Linked DNA regions of Homo sapiens: region 1 is linked to region 2. Evidence: promoter capture Hi-C in 16 types of primary human blood cells and fetal thymus (Javierre and others, 2016). All regions are on one chromosome and are shown on one strand. Each heading gives the region's core, a stretch centred on a gene start or on the middle of the fragment in contact. The rest is flanking DNA. Distances are from core to core; before and after follow the strand shown. Region 1 overlaps DHRS4L2 (dehydrogenase/reductase 4 like 2). Region 2 holds the start of IRF9 (interferon regulatory factor 9).

Region 1 (7,030 bases), core at 328-2,827, 150 kb after region 2:
GTAAAAAAGGAAGGCCTCTTGCAGTTGAGATAGAGGAAGGCCACTGTCTCCTGCCTGCTCCTGGGAACTAAAAGTCTCGGTATAAATCCCGATTGTACATTTGTTCAGTTCTGAGATGAGAGAAAAACCGCCCTATGGTGGGAGGCGAGACATGTTTGCAGCAATGCTGCCTCGTTATTCTTTACTCCACCGAGATGTTTGGGTGGAGAGAAACATAAATCTGGCTTACGTGCATGTCCAGTCATAGTACCTTCCCTTGAACTGAATTATTAGATTCTATTGCTCACGTTTGTTGCTGACCTTCTCCTTATTATCACCCTGCCCTCCTACTACATTCCTTTTTACTGAAATAATGACGATAATAATCAATAAAAACTGAGGGAACTCAGAGACCGGTGCCGGTGCAAGTCCTTGGTATGCTGAGCGCCGGTCCCCTGGGCTCACTGTTGTTTCTCTATACTTTGTCTCTGTGTCTTATTTCTCTTTCTCAGTCTCTCGTCCCACCTGACTAGAAATACCCACAGGTGTGGAGGGGCAAGCCACCCCTTCAAACAGTAGCAACCTGCTTGGGTCCCCTTCCACACTGTGGAAGCTTTGTTCTTTCGCTCTTTGCAATAAATCTTGCTGCCCCTCACTCTTTGGGTCCACACGGCCTTTATGAGCTGTAACACTCATCGTGAAGGTCTGCAGCTTCACTCCTGAGGCCAGTGAGGCCACGAACCCAGTGGGAGGAATGAACAACTCCGGATGGGAGGAACGAACAACTCCAGACATGCCGCCTTAAGAGCTGTAACACTCACTGTGAAGGTCCGCAGCTTCACTCCTGAAGCCAGCGAGACCACGAACCCACCAGAAGGAAAAAACTCTGAACGTGTCTGAACATCAGAAGGAACAAACTCCGGACACGCTGCCTTTAAGGACTGTAACACTCACTGCGAGGGTCCGTGGCTTCATTCTTGAAGTCAGTGAGACCAAGAACCCACCAATTCCAGACACACCTTCATTTTGAGCCTATGTGTGTCTTTGCACGTGAGATTGGGTCTCCTGAATACAGCACACCATATGGGTCTTGATTCTTTATCCAATTTGCCAGTCAGTGTCTTTTAATTGGGGCATTTATCCCATTTACATTGAAGGTTAGTATTGTTATATGTGAATTTGATCCTGTCATGACGTTAGCTGGTTATTTTGCCCATTAATTGATGCAGTTTCTTCATAGCATCAATGGTCTTTACAATTTCGTATGTTTTTGCAGTGGCTGGTACTGGTTGTTCCTTTCCATGTTTAGTGCTTCCTTCAGGAGCTCTTATTGTAAGGCAGGCCTGGTGGTGACAAACTCTCTCAGCATCTGCTTGTCTGTAAAGGATTTTATTTCTCCTTCACTTACGAAGCTTAGTTTGGCTGGATATGAAATTCTAGTTCCAAAAATCTTTTCTTTCAGAATGTTGAATATTGGTCCCGACTCTCTTCTGGTTTGTATGGTTTCTGCTGAGAGATCTGCTGTTAGTCTGATGGGCTTCCCTTTGTTGGTAACCCAACCTTTCTCTCTGGCTGCCCTTAACCTTGCTGAATCTGACAATTATGTGTCTTGGGGTTGCTCTTCTCAAGGAGTGTCTTTGTGATGTTCTCTGTATTTCCTGAATTTGAATGTTTCTTTTTTCTTTTCTTGTCTCTAATCTTGTGTTCTCACTTTATTTCATTAATTTTATATTCAATCACTGATATCCTTTCTTCCACTTGATTGAATCAGCTATTGAAGCTTGTGTATCCTTCATGAAGTTCTTGTACTGTGGTTATCAGCTCCATCAGGTCATTTAAGCTCTTCTCTAGATTCTTCATTCTAGTTAGCCATTCGTTTAACATTTTGTCAAGGTTTTTAGCTTCCTTGCAATGGGTTAGAACATGCTCCTTTAGCTGGGTGTAGTTTGTTATTACTGACCTTCTGAAGCTTACGTCTGTCAAGTCATCAAACTTATTCTCCATCCAGTTTTGTTCCCTTGCTGGTGAGGACTTGTATTCCTTTGGAAGAGAAGAGACGTTCTGATTTCTGGAAGTTTCAGCCTTTTTGCTCTGGTTTCTCTCCATCTTTGTGGTTTTATCTACCTTTGGTCTTTGATGTTGGTGACCTATGGATGGGGTTTTAGTGTGGATGTCCTTTCCTGTTCTGATGTTGATGCTGTCCTTTGCTGATGTTGATGCTATTCCTTTCTGTTTGTTAGTTTTCCTTCTAACAGGCCCCTCAGCTGCAGGTCTTTGGGGGTTTGCTGGAAGTCCATTCCAGACCTTATTTTCTTGGGTATCAGTAGAGGAGGCTGCAGAACAGCAAATATTGCTGCCTGATCCTTCTTCTGGAAGCTTTGTTCCACAGGGGCACCCACCTGTATGAGGTGTCTCTCTGCCCCTACTGGGCGGTGTTTTTCAGTCAAGCTACATGGGGGTCAGGGACCCACTTGGGGAGGCAGTCTGTCCGTTATCGGAGCACGAACTCCGTGCTGGGAGAACCACTGCTGTCTTTAGAGATGTCAGGCAAGGACACTGAAGTCTGCAGAAGCTGTCTGCTGCCTTTTGCTCAGATATGCCCTGGCCCCTGAGGTGGAATCTGGAGAGGCAGTAGGCCTTGCTGAGCTGCGGTGGGTTCCGCCCAGTTAGAGCTTCCCTGCAGCTTTGTTTACACTGTGATCATAGAACGCCTACTGAAGCCTTAGCAATGGAGGACTTCCCTCCCCCACGGCCCCGTTAATTGATGCAGTTTCCGCACCCCCCCCACGGCCCTCTCCACCCTACCTGTCAAGCTCCAGCTCCAGCGGAGGATGCTCCAGGGACAGCGATGTCAGGACTGAGATGCAGGGGCTGCCTTAGAGTCTGGATGCATGGGGTAGCGGGGTGTGAGGCACCGGGCCGGGGTGCAGGGCCGGAAGGAACGTGCTGGATCTGGGATGCTACCAGACGGGGCGTCCCAAAGACCGAGGCAGTCCCGTACCTTACAACTCTCAGATGAGCTCCACGGTGGGCTTGGCCACCGTGACCCCTACTGCCGAGGCTGCTGCAGAGGAGCCGCCGCCACCCACACCGCTGTGGAGCAGCCGCACATGCTAGACTCCGCTTCAGTAAAGCCCGGGCGGTGAGTGCCGCCGCAGAGGCGAGCCCGCTCCAGACAGTGGCGGTTGCGTGAGCGCCCCTCCCCCCACCGGGCTTTGGAGCGCGGGCTCCCACGCCGGCCCGGAGAGCTGCCCGACTGAGCATGCGCGTCGCGCTGCCGAGCCTCCTGAGAGCCCGCGGGCTGGCGCCGACCTTTCTTGCCGGCTCCGGCGTGAGAGGCCCGTCGGTGTGAGAGGCTCAGCGTGTGTCGCCCAGTGTCAGTGCCTTTGGGGCGGGGGACAGCGTCCCCACTTTCCTTCTACTGAATCCTCGGGCCCGTGGGCAGAACCCATTTCTTTTGTTTGTGGGCCTGGGTACCTTGCAGGGCCTTTCTCTATTCCCCACCGGCTCAGGACCCATCCAGCTTGTACTTGCTGACTCGGGAGGGAACTCGGGACGTAGGGCCATGCGGGGAGAGGACCTGGCCTGATCTGGGAGGCAAGGGGCGGGGAGGTGTTAGAGAGTTCATCCTTCCCCACTCTCTCCGGGCTCGCGCTGCCTCGGGGATTCCCGTGGCGTCCTGGGAGTTCCCGTGCCACCTTCCTTCCAGCTGGCAGCTCTGCAGACACCTCCACCCGTGAACATCACGCTCAAGTTCTGGAGACAGGGAGGAGGGCTGGGGGATCCAGAGATCCAGCCTGAATAGACTTCTGCTCTCTGCTCAGCTAAGCACCCAACACTGAGAAATGAACAGGTCAATTGGATTCAAAGCCGCGCAATCATCTGCATTTTATTTGCACCTCATTTGCAAGTTGTTAATTTGCAACTCTGCTCCTTCCACTCCAGGTTCCTTCTCTCCCATCACCCCTCAGATTCCCCAGTGGCCCAGGAAAAAATATCTTGGTCTTTGCCAAGGTAGACTCAGCCTTGTCAGCAGGCCTGTCCTGTGTTCTCAGGGGAGGCCTTTACCCAAGGCCACAACAACAGCAGGAATCCCGAGTAAGACGCCACCTTGACGGCAGGGAAGGCTGGATCTTTTCACAGGGCAGAACTGATTTGATGAGGTGAACAGTAAGGTGAGCAGAGGTGGGAAAGGCCAGTGGGTGAATGCAGGAACAGCACCAGGAGCTAGAGCCCAACTCTGGCCTGTGGGCTGTCTCCCGGTCCTCAGAGGCGGGACGGGGTTCCTCCACCCACCACCACTGTTTCCCCAGTGATGTAGCTGGCATCTTCAGAGCACAGGAAAGACACGATGCCAGCACAATCCTCTGGCTCGCCTAACCTGGGGAATAAGGGAAGCAAGGAAGGAGGTAAAAATCAAACGGGTCTGCCTCCCTCACCTGGGACACGGGGAGTTAAATTTGCTTAATCAAGAATTATCAGATGACTTTTCAGGATCAGTGTACAAGCTTTCTGCCTATCAAATAGGGTTACCACGAGGATATGCTGTTATAATTTAGTATAAGCATACTGTACTCTGCAAAACTATTACCCATAATATTCAAATACTATAGAAACACACCGGTTTTTAGAGAGCTCAGGACACCAAAATCCAAAGTTATATAGATAAAATGGTGAGCAATTAATTATTTCATACTTCAAAAAAATGGTTTCACATGTGCACACACTAAAGTATCAGGGAGTCTGTGTGACAGTAAATGGTGTGTTTAAAATGATTCCATTTGTACAGGTTCAGCTTAGAACTTTTTCAGGAATCTATACTTGTGCCTTAAAGTCATGTTCATTTAGTGAGAATGTGCTAATTCTTATTTTATCAGTGACTGCATAGTTAGGAGACACTTTAATCTCCCTGCCATAGAATGCTCTAGAGGTGGGCAGAGTGAGTAACTCAAACCTAGAAGGGCTGAATTAATGCTTCTCCATTCTACTTGTATCTTGCAATCATTTGAGAGGCTTAAACCAAAAAAGAAAAGAAAAGAAAAGACAAAGAAAAACAAAAGCCCAGATGGTCAAGTCCTACCTTGGACCAATTAAAAAGAATCTCTGGGAGTGGGTGGGGCCTGAGCACCTGCAGTTTAAAAAGCTCCCCAGGTGATTCTAATGTGAATCCAGTATTGAGCTACATGGGCTAGATCATTCATTGGTGCTCTAGGTTGACAATCCCCTCACTTATTAATGAGTTATGAACCAGGCCTGCAGCTCATGTCTCACATCAGAATGGCTTTGGGAAGATTTGGGATGTCTGGACGAGTACAGAGTTAGGCATTACTGGCATTTGTCCTTGAAGCCAGAAGGTAGAGAGAGGCAGGGAACTTAGAGGAAAGGGAGCCCGACAAAGGTGCTTGAACAGTTCACCCAGCTCACTGGGGAAGAAAGTAACTCCTTAGGCAAGGGGAGTTTGGGGCTTAGTAAAACTCTTCATTCTTTTCATTTGGATTGTAGATCATCAACCTGAGTTTTGTAAACATGTGTCATTATTCAAGGGGACTAACAAAGCATGGTTTTGGTTATGGTCCCTGGTCTCCATGGATGCTCAGAGGTGGAGGCAATCCCCCAGGTGGAGAGAGGACTCAGGGCTTCTCCGAGACCTCTGCACTGCTGAAACCCCGATGTCTCTGTGTTTACCTTTGGAAAGGGAAGCTGACTTCTTGCTCAGGTCACTGTAGTGATAGTGTTTATGAATTCGTGGTCTGTGAGGCAGAAGAGAGCCTGCCTGTGTTATCTGTGGGACTGAGACAGCGGGCTGTGGGCTGCTAGGGACCAGACCTTCCCATCTTCATGTCTCTTAGTGCCCTTGCCCTCATGACAGTTTACCTTCTTATCCGCAGGGTTTCTTTCATGCTTTCCTCTTTTTCCTTGTCCATCCAGAGCTGTAGGAAGAAGGGAAATCTCTTTATGTTTTTTTTTCTTTTCCTTTCTTTTTTTTTTTTTTTTTTTAGAGACGGAGTCTTGCTCTTTTGCCCAGGCCGGACTGTAGTGGCGCTATCTTGGCTCACTGCAAACTCCGCCTCCCGGGTTATGCCATTCTCCTGCCTCAGCCTCCCGAGTAGCTGGGATTACAGGCGCCCGCCACTGCGCCCGGCTAATTTTTTGTATTTTTAGTAGAGACGGGGTTTCACCGTGTTAGCCAAGATGGTCTCGACCTCCTGACCTCGTGATCTGCCCGCCTCGGCCTCCCAATGTGCTGGGATTACAGGCATGAGCCACCCCACCCAGAAATCTCTTTATGTTTAAGAAGAGGAATCAATTAGGAAAAGAGGAAGTCAAATTGTCCCTGTTTGCAGACGACATGATTGTTTATCTAGAAAACCCCATCGTCTCAGCCCAAAATCTCCTTAAGCTGATAAGCAACTTCAGCAAAGTCTCAGGATACAAAATCAATGTACAAAAATCACAAGCATTCTTATACACCAACAACAGACAAACAGAGAGCCAAATCATGAGTGAACTCCCATTCACAATTGCTTCAAAGAGAATAAAATACCTAGGAATCCAACTTACAAGGGATGTGAAGGACCTCTTCAAGGAGAACTACAAACCACTGCTCAAGGAAATAAAAGAGGACACAAACAAATGGAAGAACATTCCATGCTCATGGGTAGGAAGAATCAATATCGTGAAAATGGCCATACTGCCCAAGGTAATTTACAGATTCAATGCCATCCCCATCAAGCTACCAATGACTTTCTTCACAGAATTGGAAAAAACTACTTTAAAGTTCATATGGAACCAAAAAAGAGCCCGCATCGCCAAGTCAATCCTAAGCCAAAAGAACAAAGCTGGAGGCATCACACTACCTGACTTCAAACTATACTACAAGGCTACAGTAACCAAAACAGCATGGTACTGGTACCAAAACAGAGATATAGATCAATGGAACAGAACAGAACCCTCAGAAATAATGCCGCATATCCACAACTATCTGATCTTTGACAAACCTGAGAAAAACAAGCAATGGGGAAAGGATTCCCTATTTAATAAATGGTGCTGG
Region 2 (6,522 bases), core at 4,023-6,522:
TCCTTAGTGAATATCTAAGAGGAAAATATAAAGTGCTTGGCTTTAGAGTTGGGAGGTCAGGGAAGAGGGAAAGGCCCCCTGGGTTCACACCATTTGGAATTTCCTAGTCCCTTACAGATGAAAGAGGGCGTATATCTCAAAATTAAAAAAAAAAAAGGATAAAAAATTAGCCTTGAGTTCTCCACCAGCCAGTGTGTGCGAGGATTTTCAGGACACGATTATCACGGACAACTACTGAGAATTATCACAAAGAGGACAGGTCAATCGTGTGAAGAATGAGTCTACTTCAAAGGAGACAGGAAGAACAAAGAGGTGAGGTGGAAGATGGGTCCCCCAGGCTCTACACCAGGGACAGAATGGCTGCCTGCTGCTCTGGAGTCTGCTCCAGCAAGTATCGGGCAAAGGCCTGCTCCATCTGTATTGGAAGAGATGGAGAAGAGCATCTCAGTGCGTGCATCAGGGACAGACACCACCCCCAGGAGCTCCTTCCCCACTGGGAGACCCCCTTTGCCTCCTGGAGCACCACTGTCTCTGCTCTCATTAGATGGGTACTCTACCCCTGCTCCGAGCTCACCTTCACTGTGATAAGATTCTGTGGAGTATGGCTGGAGCCATGGCTCTCTTCCCAGAAATTCAGTGTTACCTGGAACTTCGGTGGGGGGCCCAGGCCCTGAAAGTACCTGACCAAGTCTGAAAGAGAAAGGGTCAAGGGTTCGAAGAACAAAAAGAAGAGAGAGGGCCACAGGCAGGGAGGCAATAGTGAGGAACCCATGATGGAGAGAGGTAGGAGGGGGTCTTGCCAGAGCAGGAGCTGCAAGGTCAGAAGTACTTGGAACTAAGTGCTACTCACCCATGTGCAAATAGGAAAGGGTGCCCCTGCCTCATATAAGTGCTTAGAAGTAGCAGATCACAGCACAGCCCGACAAGCTCTCTGCTGGGAGAGTTTAGAGTCCTCCCAGGTAGCAGCCCTGGCTGCTAACTCAGATGTGCCCAGACCTTTGCTACTTGCTCACATCCTCCCAGTGCTAGGGCACCCATGGCCCTGGGAACACCCACACTCTGCACCCCCTGTACACCTGGTCCCACTCTTAAGGTCAGGTTTAGAATTGAGTAGGAGCTGGAATTGGATGGGAGAGAAGCGCAACCCTAAGGCATGCCTGGAGTGTGGTAAAGACGGTGCAGCCAGGGCCAGTGTGTGTGATGTGTGCCAGCTCTCCCAAATGTGTGTACGTAGGAGAAGGCCATGAGGCTCAAAATCTCTGTGCCAATTCTTCTGTGCACCTTCACATAGTGACTGCATGCTTCAGTGTGATGGTGTTCTCCAAGATATGACACTCTTGTGCTGGGCTCTACCTGAACCACCTCTTCCATTGTCTTGGCTGGAGGAGAGCTGCCAGGTAGCTGCCAGGCTGGGCATATGGCCACACAGGATATGCAACACACAAGCGCAGGAGTGCCATGCATAGGCTACATGGAGGATCTGCTGGCAGATAGGGAGGTAGCAGGACCCAACAAGTTGGGCCCAGGGGGTACTAAGAGGTAGGGGGTGGAAGCTCATGTGCCCAGAGAGAACAGCCTCACCTCTGCAGAAGTAGGCGGTTCTGAAGAGCTCCACGCACTCGTTGCTGGGCAGCAGATGCGGGCCTGGCCCAGGTGGAGCCTGGGGTGCATTCCAGGAGATGGGGATGGGGCAAAGGCGCTGCACGAAGAGGCCTCGGGGGTTGCTGGCCACTAGGATGCCCCTCTCAAGCTGGCTCAGCAGGCGCTGCGTGGGCTCCAGTGGGCCAGGCTTGGGGAACAGCACCTGCTCCATGCTGCTCTCAGAGCCTGAGGGCTCAGCCACAAGGCGGCAATCCAGGCTTTGCACCTGGGCCTCGCCCACCACGCGCCCGTTGTAGATGAAGGTGAGCAGCAGTGAGTAGTCTGGGGATAGAACAGCCCTACCTGGTGCTGGAGGAGCATGCAGGCTGGCAGCAGCCCCTCCCCAGGGGAACAACTCCACCTCCCCTCCCCACACCAGCCAGGGGGCTTCCTCTCAGGTTTTCCTATCACTGAGGCAAGTAGCTAGTATGTGATTCACCATGAGGCCTCAGGGCTCAATGCCCAGGGGCTTGTAGTTTACTAGAAGGTCCCTTGAGATTGGGCCTCTGTTTGGCCCAATGAAATCAATGTCTCAATGTAGATTTCCAGGAGAGTGTATAGGGTGGTATTTTTGGGAAGCAAGCTTTTTGGAGTCTGGCCAGGCATATGGAATTCTCGCCACCTAGAAACCACTGCCTAGGGCTATGGTAATGTGGGTACAGTTTGCTGTAAGCCCTGACTGACTAGATAATGCATGCATAGTCAAAGGTGGAAGACCTCAGGGGCACAGGGCACAGGAGAAAGTCAGAAATGCCACGTACCTGGCTCTGGAGGAAGCAGAAACTCCAGGGACCTCTGATCCCCTTGAAAGGGGGCCTCAGTTGTGTCTGTAACTGGAAGGGAAGCAAAGGCACTGGTCATTCAGAGTGGGACTGGGGAGTCTTGGGCCAGAGGGTGTGGCATGGGGGACGACACAAGAGGCAGGGCAGGTGGTACCTTCCTGTGGCTCAGGGCTGCTGCTGCTGCTGCTGCTCCCAATGTCTGAATGGACTGCTCCCCCACTGGCCCCCTCCTCCTCCTGCGGACACAGTGTCTTTTTATTTTTTTTCTCTTTTTTTGAGACAGAGTTTCACTCTTGTTGCCCAGGCTGGAGTGCAGTGGCGCGATCTCGGCTCACTGCTATCTCCGCCCCCCGGTTCAAGCGATTCTCCTGCCTCGGCCTCCTGAGTAGCTGGGATTACAGGCAGATGCCACAACGCACAGCTAATTTTTGTATTTTTAGTAGAGACGGGTTCTCACCATGTTGGTCGAGGCTGGTTTCGAACTTCTGACCTCACGTGATCTGCCAGCCTCGGCCTCCCAAGACACAGTGTCTTTCATTGGCCCACCTCTCCCTCTGGTTACTGTCCTGCCCTTAGGCCCACCCAGTTCCCTCTCCATCTCTTACATTATTGAGGGAGTCCTGGAGCACAGAGGGACTGAGTGTGCAGTTCTGCATGGCATCCTCTTCCTCCTTCCTCTCAGAGGACACAGAACTGTGCTGTCGCTTTGATGGTACTTTCTGAGTCCCTGGCTGGCCTGTGGAATTGTTGAGGGACAGAGAAAGGTCAGGGTCTTGAGCAAGGACAGAGGGTGAAGGAGAGGTCTGAGGCAGTGAAGGATGGGCAGGTCTAGGAAGGGAAACCTGGGTTGCAGCCCCCCAAGGGCATGGACAGGGCAGAGCTATAAGCCTGGGGGAAGCCTGCACATCTATCCTTCCTCCCCAGTCTGCTGAGTCTAGCAGTGGTTGGACAAGGGGAAACTCACCAGAGACGATTCCTGGTGGCAGCAACTGATACACCTTGTAGGGCTCAGCAACATCCATGCGGCCCCTCTCAGGAACCTCCTTAAATTCAGAACTCTTGTTGAGTGCACAGCGCAGGCGAGTCTTCCAGACAGCTGGACCTCCTGTGTCCCCCTCCTTATACTTTCCCTTAAATATTGCCCAGGCCTAGGAAAGAAAGCAAGGGAAGAAGAGGCAGTGTGTTACAGGCTCCACCTGCCCCTCCAATAGGACTGGCTTTACAGGCGTGCAGCTCTGAGCTCAGAAGGGATTATGCAGGGTCTGTGCTCTGCGTTGCCATCTTGAAATCCTTGGAAATTTTTTTTTTTTTTTTTTGAGACAGAGTCTCACTCTGTCACCAGGCTGGAGTGCAGTGGTGCGATCTCGACTCACTACAACTCCACCTCCCTGGTTCAAGCGATTCTCCTGCCTCAGTCTCCCGAGTAGCTGGGACTACAGGCATGCACCGCTAGGCCCAGCTAAGTTTTGTATTTTTAGTAGAGACAGGGTTTCACCATGTTGGCCAGGCTGGTCTTGATCTCTTGACCTCGTGATCCACCCACCTTGGCCTCCCGAAGTGCTGGGATTACAGGCGTGAGCCACCGTGCCTGGCCAATATCCCTAAAATTTTTGAACAAGGCCTCCACATTTTCATTTTGTACTGGACTCTGCAAATGATGCAGCTAGTTTTCCTCTCCAATCTGTCCCTTATCTGAAACCCAGGCAGACGCAAGTGCTCGAGGATGAGTGTACCAGTGTGTATACACCATCCCACACACAGAGGAACAGTGGTTTCCAGGCCCTTTCACCTTGAAGAAGGCAGCATCCTGGTCCTCCCGGAAGTCCTGCTTGCCTGCATGTTTCCAGGGAATCCGGAACATGGTCTTAGCTGTATCATCCCAGCACACTCCGGGAAACTGCCCACTCTCCACTTGCTCCACCACCCAGTTCCGGAGTTTTCGGGTGCAGCGTGCCCTGCCTGATGCCATCCTGGGGGATAATAGGAGCAGGATGCATCAGAACTGACACTTTGGGAGGGAACATCTCCTGAGACCCTGGCCATTGAGACTAGATTCTGGCAACAGGTCCCAGAGATCCCATCCATCTTCTTTTAGCTCCAAACACATTTCAACACTCTATGGGACAGAATTGTTTCCTTTCTGCCATCACTAGCAGTGACAAACAACAACAACAACAACAAAACCCCCCAAAACATTGTTTTTAGCACTCTAAGCTGTGATACCTGGAAGGAAACCTTGGGCACTGGTCTTAATTTTAGGACTTTTCAGAGATGTATTGTTTACAAAAGAATTCCTTTGGTGATCGTTCCTGGTGACAGGCCCTGTCTAGATTCCCGAGCATCAGCAGAGGTAGGTTCTGCTGAGATCCATCAGGCTCTTCACCCACCGCCCCACAGCCTACACAACCTAGCCTGACCCCCACCCCCTGCCGGCCCCAGGAGTAGGTGGGGCAGGAAGTAGGGGTGGGGTTGGAGCTGCAGCAGAAGTGGGCAGGGCCAGATGGCAAGGAAACAAATGGTCCACTGAGGCTGGGGCCAGGAGCCTTCTTCCTTGAACAATCCAGCAGTAGGTCCTCCTGACCTTTGCCTACAAGGGTCTGGGGAGCTGGCCCTTGTCAGTCTCACTCTCAGGCTGAATCTCCCACTTCCTGACTTAAGAGATCTTCTGTCTATCCCTCAGTCTAACAGAGCGACCCCTAGGACCCCCTGCCCTCAATCTGGCTGGACTTTCTAGCCCTAGATCCCAGGCTGACTCCCATCCTTGGCTGATCTTACCTGAGTTGCTGTCCAGGCTGTCGCAGGGCTCAGACGACCTCAGCTTAACTCCTGGCTGGGCGGCTGATCTCTCCGCCCCTTTCTACAGTCCCCACCCTAAGTTTCAGTTCTCCTCCAGGGAGGGCCTTTTCCCAGAAATCACGTGGTCTGAGTTGCAGGGAACTGGCGGCCACTAGAGGGCAGCAGCATCTGAGCATCTCACTATCAGGATGCCACTGTCGCAGCAGGGGGGCCCTGCCCTGCTGGCTCAGCTCCAGCCTGGCTCATTCCCCTGCCTCCCTCAGATACTCTTGCTTCTATCTGACCTCTGGGTGACACCGTGGCTTCCCCAGGGAGGCCAGTTTCCTGGAGTCAGGCCTGGGACCTCTGGACTGCTGTGTACACCTGTGCATCTGCATTCCCCCACAGTGCCCACCTGATACATATTGGGTGACTTCAAATACCAGTCAAATTCTATGAAAGGAAAAAAGGAGGCAGGGAGGGAGGAAGCCCAGGCCAGGCTGCTGGATGGGGAGGGCCTCCCTTGACCATCCAGGGTGTCAACTCCTTCCTGGTCCTGAGTCCAGGGAGGGTCAGGCACTAGGTTGCAGGGGGCCCTTTTCAGCAAAGCTCTGTTCACCCCGCTCTTTCCCTGGTGCCCCTAGATGGTGGCACCAGGAAGAAGGACCACCAAGAAGCCTGGGTGGTAAGATGCCTCTTTATTGGTGCTGGAGCTGTTCCTGAGGGAGCAGGCCATGGGACCCTCATCGGGACCCTTGCCCTCAGCTACTTCCGCCTGCGGGGGATACTCTGTCCCAAGGGTACCTCTTCTGTCAGCTTCTGCAGAAGGAGAGAGAAGGTAATGATATTGGAAGCCTGGAGCTCAGACACAGTCAGCACCAGGTGACTTCTGTAGGGTGGGTTAAGAGATGAGGCTGGGTGGAGGCTATACCTGTAACAAGCGGGCCTGGTAAGCAGGGGGATCCTCTCCAGCCAAAGGCTGGGGGCGTACGTGCAGGTAGCGCTCAGTGGCCGTCTCCAGCTCTTCCACCTCATACAAGGTGGCTGGGTCCAGCGAGTGGGCATTGATGAGGCTCACAAGATACTCTTTGTAGTGTGCCCTGGGGAGAAAAGGGAGCAGAATATTTGTTGTGTTGGCTAATATTAACTGAGTGTGTCTAACATAGCTGGACTCTGAGACACCTGGACGAACAAGATTAACAACCCACCTGTGCCCACACTGCCTGCTACTATCTACCCATGCCCTTGCCCAGAAAGCCTCCTCCCTCCCACCCACTGCAAGACCTACTGCTCCCAAGGACCCATTTTACTGCCTGGGCATGCC

What was found. Contacts are between HindIII fragments. The CHiCAGO score rates a contact against its expected background, and 5 or more counts as called.
Region 1: a fragment that was not itself captured here is called in contact with the fragment with the promoter of IRF9 in region 2 in 1 of 17 cell types (activated CD4 T cells); the score reaches 5.3 in activated CD4 T cells.

Annotation. Positions count from the first base shown.
Region 1 is chr14:24,003,216-24,010,245 of GRCh38, reverse strand. It overlaps DHRS4L2 (dehydrogenase/reductase 4 like 2), which reads right to left. Exons shown (of 8, transcript NM_198083.4): 7 at 5,854-5,909; 8 at 3,843-4,360. The coding sequence ends at 5,876. It also overlaps the pseudogene DHRS4L1. Among named protein-coding and RNA genes, the nearest start is that of DHRS4L2, 18 kb to the right of the region's middle. The HindIII fragment of the contact is 368 bases long and covers 1,394-1,761 here.
Region 2 is chr14:24,160,015-24,166,536 of GRCh38, reverse strand. IRF9 (interferon regulatory factor 9) reads right to left here and starts at 5,272. Exons shown (of 9, transcript NM_006084.5): 1 at 5,199-5,272; 2 at 4,213-4,393; 3 at 3,388-3,571; 4 at 3,029-3,159; 5 at 2,578-2,659; 6 at 2,403-2,474; 7 at 1,582-1,923; 8 at 575-690; 9 at 1-415. The coding sequence starts at 4,392. The coding sequence ends at 341. RNF31 (ring finger protein 31) reads right to left here. Exons shown (of 21, transcript NM_017999.5): 20 at 6,130-6,298; 21 at 5,882-6,017. The coding sequence ends at 5,964. RefSeq lists enhancers at 4,107-4,166, 5,156-5,545. The HindIII fragment of the contact is 4,395 bases long and covers 2,227-6,522 here.